Linked DNA regions of Homo sapiens: region 2 is linked to region 1. The links are contacts of gene promoters, found by promoter capture Hi-C in blood cells and fetal thymus (Javierre and others, 2016). All regions are on one chromosome and are shown on one strand. The core of a region is centred on a gene start or on the middle of the fragment in contact, and the rest is flanking DNA. Distances in the headings are between cores, read along the strand shown.

The links. Contacts are between HindIII fragments. The CHiCAGO score rates a contact against its expected background, and 5 or more counts as called.
Region 2: a contact is called between a fragment that was not itself captured here and the fragment with the promoter of CCNB1 in region 1, in 3 of 17 cell types (neutrophils, erythroblasts and M2 macrophages). The highest score is 6.9, in neutrophils.

What each region holds. Positions count from the first base shown.
Region 1 is chr5:69,164,267-69,169,322 of GRCh38, reverse strand. It overlaps CCNB1 (cyclin B1), which reads right to left and starts at 2,173. Exons shown (of 9, transcript NM_031966.4): 1 at 2,040-2,173; 2 at 1,245-1,415; 3 at 980-1,150. The coding sequence starts at 2,060. RefSeq lists enhancers at 1,918-2,147, 1,528-2,493. The HindIII fragment of the contact is 10,262 bases long and covers 1-5,056 here.
Region 2 is chr5:69,498,105-69,503,718 of GRCh38, reverse strand. All of the region lies in intron 1 of OCLN (occludin), which reads right to left. Among named protein-coding and RNA genes, the nearest start is that of OCLN, 8.1 kb to the right of the region's middle. RefSeq lists an enhancer at 3,388-3,937. The HindIII fragment of the contact is 5,611 bases long and covers 989-5,614 here.

The DNA.
Region 1 (5,056 bases), core at 924-3,423:
CACTTTCGGAGGCCGAGGCGGGCGGATCATGAGGTCAGGAGTACACTAACATGGTGAAACCCCATCTATACTAAAAATATGAAAATTAGCTGGGCGTGGTGGCGTGCGTCTGTAATCCCAGCTACTAGGGAGGCTGAGGCAGGAAAATTGCTTGAACCTGGGAGGCAGAGGTTGCAGTGAGCCAAGATCACGCCACTGCACTCCAGCCTGGGCAACAGAGCCAGACTCTGTCTCAACAAGTTTTTTTCAGATAATTTTCCCAACTGGTTTTAACTAAGTTTAAAAAAACAGAGCTTCAGAATACAGTTCATTGCAATTTCATCAAAGCAGCCTCCTCTACATGACCTACCTTTCCTTCACAGGTAGGTCTATCATAGAATACATTTACATACCTTATATTTAATAAAAAGTTATTATTTTTGAGGCTAAGTGTTAATTCATCTTCTTAACCACTCCCTGAAAAGTTGCCTTCTTCCTGTTTTACTCCTTTGCATATTCCAATGTTACAGGCTTATTATTTAGTAGCCATATGCAGCAGTAAAAAAATTCAAGAGAACATTCTATGTTTACGCCAATAAATTCTGCAGAGATGGCTTGTAGTTGGATAACAAAGCCTTTGGCTCAGACAGCTACTACTTAATATCATTAACGAAGGAATATAAGACAGTTGACAATTAAAAGCATAGATTCTGAAGCCAGACAGCCTGAGCTTGAATCCCATATGGGCCACTTACCTGTGTGACCCTGACATAACCTCTCTAAAGCCATGATTTAAATAGTAGAGGTGACAATACCTCAGAGAGTACGTGTAAAGATTATGTGAGTTAATGCATGTAAAATGTTAGGCAGAGCTTGCCTCATGCTAAGCACTCAATAAATGGTATTAATATTACTATTCATTTGAATGCTCTTGCATGTATCAGTGAAATAAGGGACAAGAAATAATCAACAGACTCTACAATGGTAAGAATAAGTTTACCAAAATAGGCTCAGGCGAAAGTTTTTCTTCTTTAACAGGCTCAGGTTCTGGCTCAGGTTCTGGCTCTGGCACTGGCTCAGACACTGGCACTGGCACCAGCATAGGTACCTTTTCAAGAGGTTTTGGTAGTTTTTTATCAATGACTTTTCCAGTAGCTGAAGGTTTTGCTTCCTGTAGATGAAACAGAGAGAATGAAATGTTTCTGCATCAAAGGCCACAGTTGGAAGGCGGGCTCTTACAGAAGTTAGGTCAGGAAGAGAGTTACCTTCTTCATAGGCATTTTGGCCTGCAGTTGTTCACTGACTTTGTTACCAATGTCCCCAAGAGCTGTTCTTGGCCTCAGTCCGGGCTTGGAGGTTGCAGCAGGGGCCGTAGGAACGCGCTTTGCGCCTGCCATGTTGATCTTCGCCTTATTTTCAGCATTAATTTTCGAGTTCTGAAAGAAGCAAGACCACTTTAAGAGCTGATCCACGAAGGCTCGAGTAAGTCAAGGGTTAATTAAGGTGGGGCACAAGGAGAAGTTCCCAGAAAGAAAGCCGACTAAAAATGGGTTCCGAGGGAAAACATGGGTCCCAGAGTCTACTCTGCGGCCGTGACAAGTCAGTTTCCGCCGACCTCTACATTTACCAATTGAGGGATTCCCTGATTAGTCCTGGCCAGCCCTAAAATACCGAGAATTTACATTTGAAAGGAAACCGAAAAAGCCTCCAATTGCAGACACCTTCTCTCTGGGAAGGGGGTTACAGAGTTGCTGGCGGGCCCACTCAGGGACCCTCTATCACTTTTTCAAAAGGTTCCCAGTCGACTCTCCACCTCCCCAAAACATTTATCCAATATCCGTCCAGTTCTCTTTCTCACCTTCCTCCCTCCATCCATCGTCCCCCACACTCTCTCACCAGGCCTGGGCCCACCTCGGCGCTCTCTTGGTGAGTCCCCTCCCACCTTCCTCCCCAAATCGCTCCTGCGGCCCTCTCCCGCTCGGGAGGCTCCCGCAGGCGAGGCAGGGAGAGCAGGCAGCAGCTAAGAAGGCCGCGTTAGTTCGCAGTCCGAAGCGGCTCACCCTGGTGACTCGGAGCGCCATGGCTTCCTCTTCACCAGGCAGCAGCTCAGCGGGGAGAAGCAGAACACCGGAGGCCCGACCAGCCAAGGACCTACACCCAGCAGAAACCAACAGCCGTTCCGCCGCAGCACGCCGAGAAGAGCCAGCCTAGCCTCAGATTTAAACCCCGCACTGCTCCCTCCTTATTGGCCTGTTCGTGGCACTCACTCCCTTCCCATTGGCGGCTGCCGGTCGCAGAGAATGCGTTTCCAGGGCGATCGCGCGAAGGCGTTCGAGAGGGGCGGGGCCACAGTGAGGCTAGGCCGGAAGGCCTGGCCAGGCTCTCACGTGGTCTGCCTCTGCGCCTGCGCTCTCGGGCAGCTGCAGCGGCCACCTGGAGAGCAGTGAAGCCAGTGCGCCGCCCACCTGGAAAGGTTAGCCGGGCAAGAGTGTGCGTTGCCAATGCCAGCTCAGGAAAGGCCTAGTGGCCTTTGGAAGGTGACAGAGGCGCGGCCACAGTCTCAGAAGTGTCAAAAGTAGTTTTGGATCTAGTGTTGCACACTTTCCATTTCTACGGTAGCAGCAATAATATAGTTCATGAAAGGCTTTAATAGACATTCTTTCATTTGATCGTTGCAACAACTCTCTGGGTTGGAGGAACTGAAGCTCAGCGACTTAGATGACTTTGCCAGGGTCACACATTAGCAACGGGGGAACTGAATTTAGGGTTTTTTTTTTTGAGGGGGAGGGAGGGGGTGTATCCGTGTTGTTTTCACAACACTGATTGTCCCTTAACAATATTACTTGATTACTTCAAGATTGTCCAGTTTCCCAAGGCCAATTGTTTTGTTTGTTTTAGCTTTCTATTTGGAAATAATTTCATACTTAGACCAGTTGCCAACAAAAATCTTGTAAGGAATATTTCTATGCCCTTTACTCAGATTCAACTATCCTTAACATGTATTTGCCTCTCATGGGAAAATCAGGAAAAACTAAACAAAAAGACATTTTACCCCATTTGCTTTGTCATTTGCTCAGATTCTCTCTAGATCCAAAGAAAAACAAGAGGGTTCTTTTTGCCTTCTACTCCTCAAAACACACCAGCAGCTCAGCAATTGGAGGGGAGGCTGAAGGACAAAAACATTGCTATCCCATAGAGCAACGGTATAAGAGCCAATAGAGACTCCTGGCGCTGGAAGTCACGGATCCGAAAGAAGGCGCCCAATCATTTGGTTTCTTTGGATCGTTATTGAGTCTTCTGTCATCATAGTTCACCCTCCTACTCGAATGCCTCCCGTGGGGCCCTTACCCTTGCTCTCCTCTGCCTGGAATGCCCGCCTCTTCTTGCATTCAAGCCCCTGGGTTCTATTCAGGTAACTCCCATTCATCCTTCAGTTCTGTGTTCAACATCCATTCTCACTCAGTCTTTCTGGGTTTGATCAATCCTTCCTCGCCCCATGCAGGGGCGAGAGGCAAGGGGCGAAGCAGGATTACTTATCCTCTGTGTTCCAGTTTAAAAATTTTTTTTTTTACTTTTTTTTGAGACGGAGTCTCGATCTGTCGCCCAGGCTGGAGTGCAGTGGTGCGATCTCGACTCACTGCAACCTCCACCTCCAGGGTTCACTCCATTCTCCTGCCTCAGCCTCCCGAGTAGCTGGGACGGCAGGCGCCCGCCACAACGGCCGGCTAATTTTTTGTATTTTTGGTAGAGACGGGGTTTCACCATGTTAGCCAGGATGGTCTCGATCTCCTGACTTGGTGATCCGCCCGCCTCGGCCTCCCAAAGTGCTGCGATTACAGGCGTGAGCCACCACGCCCGGCCAAATTTTTCCTTTTATATGCTTTATTTTTTAGAGCAGTTTTAGGTTCGCAGCAAAACTTAGCAGAAAGTATAGAGCATTTCACCTGCCTTCCCCACTATTGACACCCCACATTAAAGTTGTACTTTAATTATAATCTGTTAACCTACATTGACACCACAGTATTACCCAAAGTCCATAGTTTACATTAAGGTTCACTCTAGGTGTTGTGTCTTCTACGGGTTTTGACAAATATATAATGACGTATAATGTCCACCCGCCTCAACCTCCCAAAGTGCTGGTATTGAAGGCGTGAGCCACTGCACCTGGCGGTCAGAATGGTTTCTTTTACTCAAATATGCATTTAAGGTTCTTCCATGTTTTTTTCATGGGTTGGGATCTCATTTTATTTTAGCCCTGAATAATATTGCATTGTCTGGATGTACTAGTTTATTTATTCAGTCACCTACTAAGTGACATCTTGATTGCGTCCAAGTTTTGGTATGAATATAACTGCTACTAACATCTGTGTGCAGATTTTTGAGTGGACGTAAGTTGTTTTTGTTTTTCGTTTGTTTGTTTGTTTTTTGAGACGGAGTCTTGCTTTGTTGCCCAGGCTGGAGTGCGGTGGCGCCATCTAGGCTCACTGCAAGCTCCGCCTCCCGGGTTCACGCCATTCTCCTGCCTCAGCCTCCCAAGTAGCTGGGACTATAGGCGCCCGCCACCAGGCCTGGCTAATTTTTTGTATTTTTAGTACAGACGAGGTTTCACCATGTTAGCCAGGATGGTCTCGATCTCCTGACCTCGTGATCCACCCTCCTCGGCCTCCCAAAGTGCTGGGATTACAGGCGTGAGCCACTGTGCCCGGCTGAGTGGACATAAGTTTTAAACTCATTTGGGTGAATACCAAGGAGCAAGACTGTTGGATCATATAGTATGTTTACTTTTGTAAGAAACCGCCAAACTGTCTTCCAAAGCTGCTCTACCATTTTGCATTCCCATCAGCAATCCTCACAAGCATTTGGTGTTGTCAGTTTTTAAAAAAATTGTAGCCATCCTATTAGGTGTGTAGTGGTAACTCATTGTTTTTTGATTTGCAGTTCTCTAATGACATATGATATTGAGTATCTTTTTCTGTGATTATAATCTGTATAACTTCTCTGTTGAGGTATCTGTTCAGGTATTTTGCCTAGTTTTTGTTTTGTTTTGTTTTTTGAGATAGGGTCTTACTATGTTACC
Region 2 (5,614 bases), core at 2,545-5,044, 330 kb before region 1:
CAAGTCTTCGAAACTGAGCACAATTTTTATACAAGGGGAGAAAAAACAATATGCATGGTATTAATTGGTCATTTTCTGAAATTTTGTCCTAAAATTCTTCAGCACAAGTTCCTAAACATCTGAGGAGAAATTTCACTCAACAAGCATTTATTAAGTGCCTACACTAGACCAGGAGAGCCTGTGGGAGTGACGTATGACAGCCAGCGCTGGGGTCCTGGCTCTTCCAGGCTGGTGTGGTGCTGATAACACAGGTGGCTAGCTTATGGAACAGTGAAGTGGGAGCATGGTGGAATGGTGTCATCTTTTAAAATAAGGTTACAGTAAGAATATAGTGGATGGAGGATGAGTAAGAAAAGGGAGGGCTTTGAAAGTCTAGTGGGAGTGTCTCACTTCCTTCAGGTAGGAAACAGGGAGCCAGTTCGTGATTCTCGGCAAGGGAGGTGTAAGTTTGATTTGAACCAGATTTGAAAGACAAAGTCAACAGTAAAAAGGAGCACCTACAGTCAGCAGCAGCAAACCTAGGTGTGAGGCAACAATGAAGGACTAGCTTAGGAGACAGAAGATAGGAAGGAAACTAACATTCATCAGACACCTACCGACGTGCTGGGTGCTTTACATAAAACCTCCTTTCATCCTCAAAACGACCCTCCATGGTTGATTAGTCACTTTACAGATGCAAAGAGGGTCAGAAAGAGATGTGAAGTAATATGCTCAAGGTTATATGGATGTCAGTGAGTCACTCAGATGTAACTTGAACCCAGATGATTTCATGTGCTTTTCACTATGCTAGTTTGAAACAATGAGTTCCATTTGGGAAACACCAGTTTTTGTGGGGAGTGCACATCTGGTGTTAGCATCCATGAGGAAGTGAAGATGGAGGTCATCTGCCTACGTCCGTAGGTGGATCCATGGGCACTGAGAGCTCTCCAGGAAAAAGACAAGTCTCAGCAAGATGTGGTAAACACACAACCCCCTAACCTATAAAGCTTGAGGATTATTCTAGAAAACCCAGTGCTGGAGACACTGGCAAGGTACTTCCCACATCAGCTACAGAACTTCATGCCACTCCTTAGCTATGTTGAACCAACAATAAATTCTTTCCAGGTTATACCAGTGATTAGTAGAGTAGGGAACTTTGAGATCTACTGGAAGGTAAATTCCATGTGAGCAGGAATTTTTGCATGTTTTGTTCACTGATTAAATCAATGCCTGGCACATAGTAGACGTCCAGATAATTTGTTGAATGTTTACAGGAACCAGATTGGACCATGGATATCTCTGCCTGCAAAACCTCTTGTGCTTTCAAGTTGAAGGTAACGGAAAAGTATCAGAGTAACTTTAAAAGGTATGATCCCTGAATGACACTTGAGTAACATCTATAATGAGTACATTAAAGTATCTGATTTTTTTTCCTTTTCTAATACGGTCTGTACAATCATACATTAATATATTAACAACAGTACATCAATTCAGACTCTTAAAACTTTTTTTTAAATTAATGGCAACTCTTTTTTTTTTTTTTGAGCCGAGTCTCGCTCTGTCACCAGGATGGAATGCAATGGCATGATCTCAGCTCACTGCAATCTCCGCCTCCCGGCTTCAAGCGATTCTCCTGCCTCAGCCTCCCGAGTAGCTGGGACTACAGGCGCACGCTGCCACGCCCGGCTAATTGTTTGTATTTTTAGTAAAGATGGGGTTTCACCATGTTGCACAGTCTGGTGTCAAACTCCTGAGCTCAGGCAATCTGCCCTCCTTGGCCTCCCAAAGTGCTGGGATTACAGGCATGAGCCACCACGCCCCACCTGGCAACTCTCTTCTATACCCTTTAGGACAGTGTATTTCAAATCTCTCAGAATTAAACCCTGCCCAACTATGTATTAGATAAATCCTCAAAGATGGAAATATATAGAATGTTAATAACACCAACACAATTAGCATAATTTTCCAAAGACATGAAGGAAGATGACTTTTCTACATTTTTAAAAGCCACTTTTAAAGTATACCATAGAGAAAAGTGCACAAATCATAAGTGTACACAGCCCTGTAACTAGCACTCAAGTCAATTTCTCTATACTTTTTTTTTTTTTCTTTTGAGACAAGGTCTCATTCTGTTGCCCAGGATGAAATGCAGTGCCATCATCTCAGCTCACTACAACCTGCCTCCCAGGCTCAAGCAATCCTCCTGCCTCAGCCTCACAAGTAGCTGGACTACAGGCACATGCCACCACGCCTGGCTAATTTTTGTATTTTTAGTAGAGATAAGGTTTCACCATGTTGCCCAGGCTGGTCTCAAACCCCTGAGCTCAAGCTATCCACCTGCCTTGGCCTCCCAAAGTACTGGGATTACAGGCATGAGCCAATACACCTGGCCAATTTCTCTATATTCTAGTAATGGTGAAACACACATACAAATGAGCAATTTAGGCGAAAATGTTATGGTACTATAAAAAGGCAAAAGTCCAGATTGTCTTCAGAAAAAGAACATTAAGGAATACTGAATTTAGGCCAGGTGAGGTGGCTCACACCTGTAATTCCAGCACTTGGGAGGTGGAGACAGGTGGATCACCCTAGGTCAGGAGTTCGAGACCAGCCTGGCCATCATGGCAAAACCCCGTCTCTACTAAAAATACAAAAATTAGCTGGGCATGGTGGCACGTGCCTGTAATCCCAGCTACTTGAGAAACTGAGGCATGAGAATCGCTTGAGCCCGAGGTGGAGGTTGCAGTGAGCCAAGATTGTGCCACTGCACTCCAGCGTGGGTGACAGAGCAAGACTCCTTTAAAAAAAAAAAGTAAAACAGAAAATCTGAAGTTAAGCACTATTAAATGTGGGATCCTAGTTCTGAAGCTGAATGTCAAATATCCCCAAATTCTAGGTTCAGTGGTAGTTTTGGAAACTCTAAATTAATCCAGACTCAGTCTTAAGTTGTCAAAAATTCAAACAAGATCCCTTTTCAAACTGCTATTTCCAGGATTCAGAGTTGTCACGTCTCCCCAAAAGCACGGATTTTAAATTGTGAACCAAATCATGTGGCTCATGCCTGTAATCCCAGCACTTTGGGAGGCCGAGGCAGGTGGATCACATGAGGTCTGGAGTTCAAGACCAGCTGACCAATGTGGTGAAACCCTATCTCTACTAAAAATACAAAAAATTAGAGGGGCGTGGTGGTGCATGCCTGTAAACCCAGCTACTTGGGAGGCTGAGGTAGCAGAATTGCTTGAACCTGGGAGGCGGAGTTCGCAGTGAGCCAGTATTGCGCCATTGCACTCCAGCCTGGGCAAAAAGAGCAAAACTCCGTCTCAAAAAAAAAAAAAAGAAAAGAAAGCTCGTTAAGAACAAGTCATGCCACACCAACTTCATTTCCTTTTCTGGGAAGGTTACCAAACTGGTGGATTTTATTTTCTCCTTTATTATTTCCTCTTCAGGGAATGCAGAGAGAAAGAATCCTGAAAATCTTGAGCACATCCTTGTGTGGGTGGGCAGATTCCCAAGGGGCTGGATTACGGCACCCAATTAGCACAAAAGAATGAACCATTTATGTCCACCTGGTGGGAGGTCTCCACTGGTAAACACAGACAAAGTGGAGGAGACACGCTTATCCAGATTTGCAGCTGACCAAACACACTGGAAAGGATAACTAACCCATTGGCTAGGGCCATCAACACTAAGCAAGATCTCTGTAATGTCAGAATGATGAGTTTGAAACAACCTAGTGGTTTTAACAGCCCCCATTTACTGGCTCGCAATCTGAGACAAATTCCTTATCTCCTCTAAGTGCACTCAAATGCGGGAATAATCCTGACCTCTGCACTGGGATAAGAAAAAGTCTTAAAGAGCTGGGCGCAGTGGTTCACGCCTGTGATCCCAGCACTTTGGGAGGCCGAGGCGGGTGGATCACGAGGTCAAGAGATCAAGACCATCCTGGTCAACATAGTGAAACCCTGTCTCTACTAAAAAAATACAAAAATTAGCTGGGCTTGGTGGCGCGCGCCTGTAGCCCCAGCTACTCAGGAGGCTGAGGCAGGAGAATCGCTTGAATCCAGGAGGAGGAGGTTGCAGTGAGCTGAGGTCACGCCACTGCACTCCAGCCTGGCGACGGAGCGAGACTCCGGCTCAAAAAAAAAAGAAAGAAAAAAACCACAAGAAAAAGTCTTCAAGAAAATGGGCAACTGCATTCATCATAAGGTGGTTATCCTGAAAGTAAGAAATTTCAGTGCTTAGGCACTTAGGTATATTGTATCCATTTTCAAATACAGCTGACCCTCCACATCCATGGGTTTTAAATTCTGATTCAACCAACCTCAGACAGAAAATATTCAGGGGAAAAAAAAATTAAAAATTACAGGGCAGGTACAGTGGCTCACACCTGTAATCCCAACACTCTAGGAAGCTGAAGCAGGAAGATCACTTGAACCCAGGAGTCCAAGACTGACCACAGCAACATAGTAAGACCCCATCTCCACAAAAAATTTTTCTTAAAATTAGCCAGGCATGGTGGCACATCCCTGTAAGTTCCAGCTACTCAAGAGACTGAGATGGGAGGATCTCTTGAGCAGAGGAAGTTGAGGCTGGAGTGATCATGCCACTATACTCCAGCCTGAGTAACAGTAATACCCTGTCTAAAAAAATAATAAACAATAAAACAAAAAATAGATTTTTAAAACTACAATATCACAATTCTACATAGTATTTACATTGTATACGGTATTATAACTAGAGATTATTTAAAGTCTACAAGAGGTCTGGGTGCAGTGGCTCACACCTGTAATTCCAGCTCTTTGGGAGCCCAAGACGGGCGGATCACTTGAGGTCAGGAGTTCGAGACCAGCCTGGCCAACATGGTGAAACCCTGTCTCTACTAAAAATACAAAAATTAACTGGGATTGTGCCGGGTGCCTGTAATCCCAGCTACTCAGGAGGCTGAGGCAGGAGAATCGCTTGAGCCCAGGAGGCAGAGTTTGCAGTGGGCCAAAATTGCATCACTGCACTCCAGCCTAGATGATGGAGTGAGATTCTGTCTCAAAAAAACAATTAAAAAAAAAAGTATACAAGAGCATTTAGGCCATATGCAAATACAAAGCTATTTTATAACAAGGACTTCAGCATCCTCAGATTTTAGTATCATGGGGGTCCTGGAAGCAACCTCTCACAGATACTGAAGGGTGACTATATTGGTGGCATAAATGAGTCATTTTTAAAATGTAAACTGATTTTTTTTTTTTTTGAGACAGGAGTCTTGCTCTGTCATCCAGCCTGGAATGCAATGGCGTGATCTCGGCTCAATGCAACCTCCACCTCCCAGGTTCAAGCAATTCTCCCACCTCAGCCTCCTGAGTAGCTGAGATTACTGGCACATGCCACCAGGCCAGGCTAATTTTTGCATTTTTAGTAGAAACGGGGTTTCACCATGTTAACCAAGCTGGTGTCAAACTCCTGACCTCAGGTGATCCACCCACCTCAGCCTCCCAAAGTGCTGGGATTACAGGCATGAGCCACCATGCCCAGCCATAAACTGAATTTTTAAAAAGTCAATTCCATAGTACAGTATAGAGGAGAACTAATTTAATAATCGTTCTTTTTTTTTTTTGAGACGGAGTCTCGCTCTGTCGCCCAG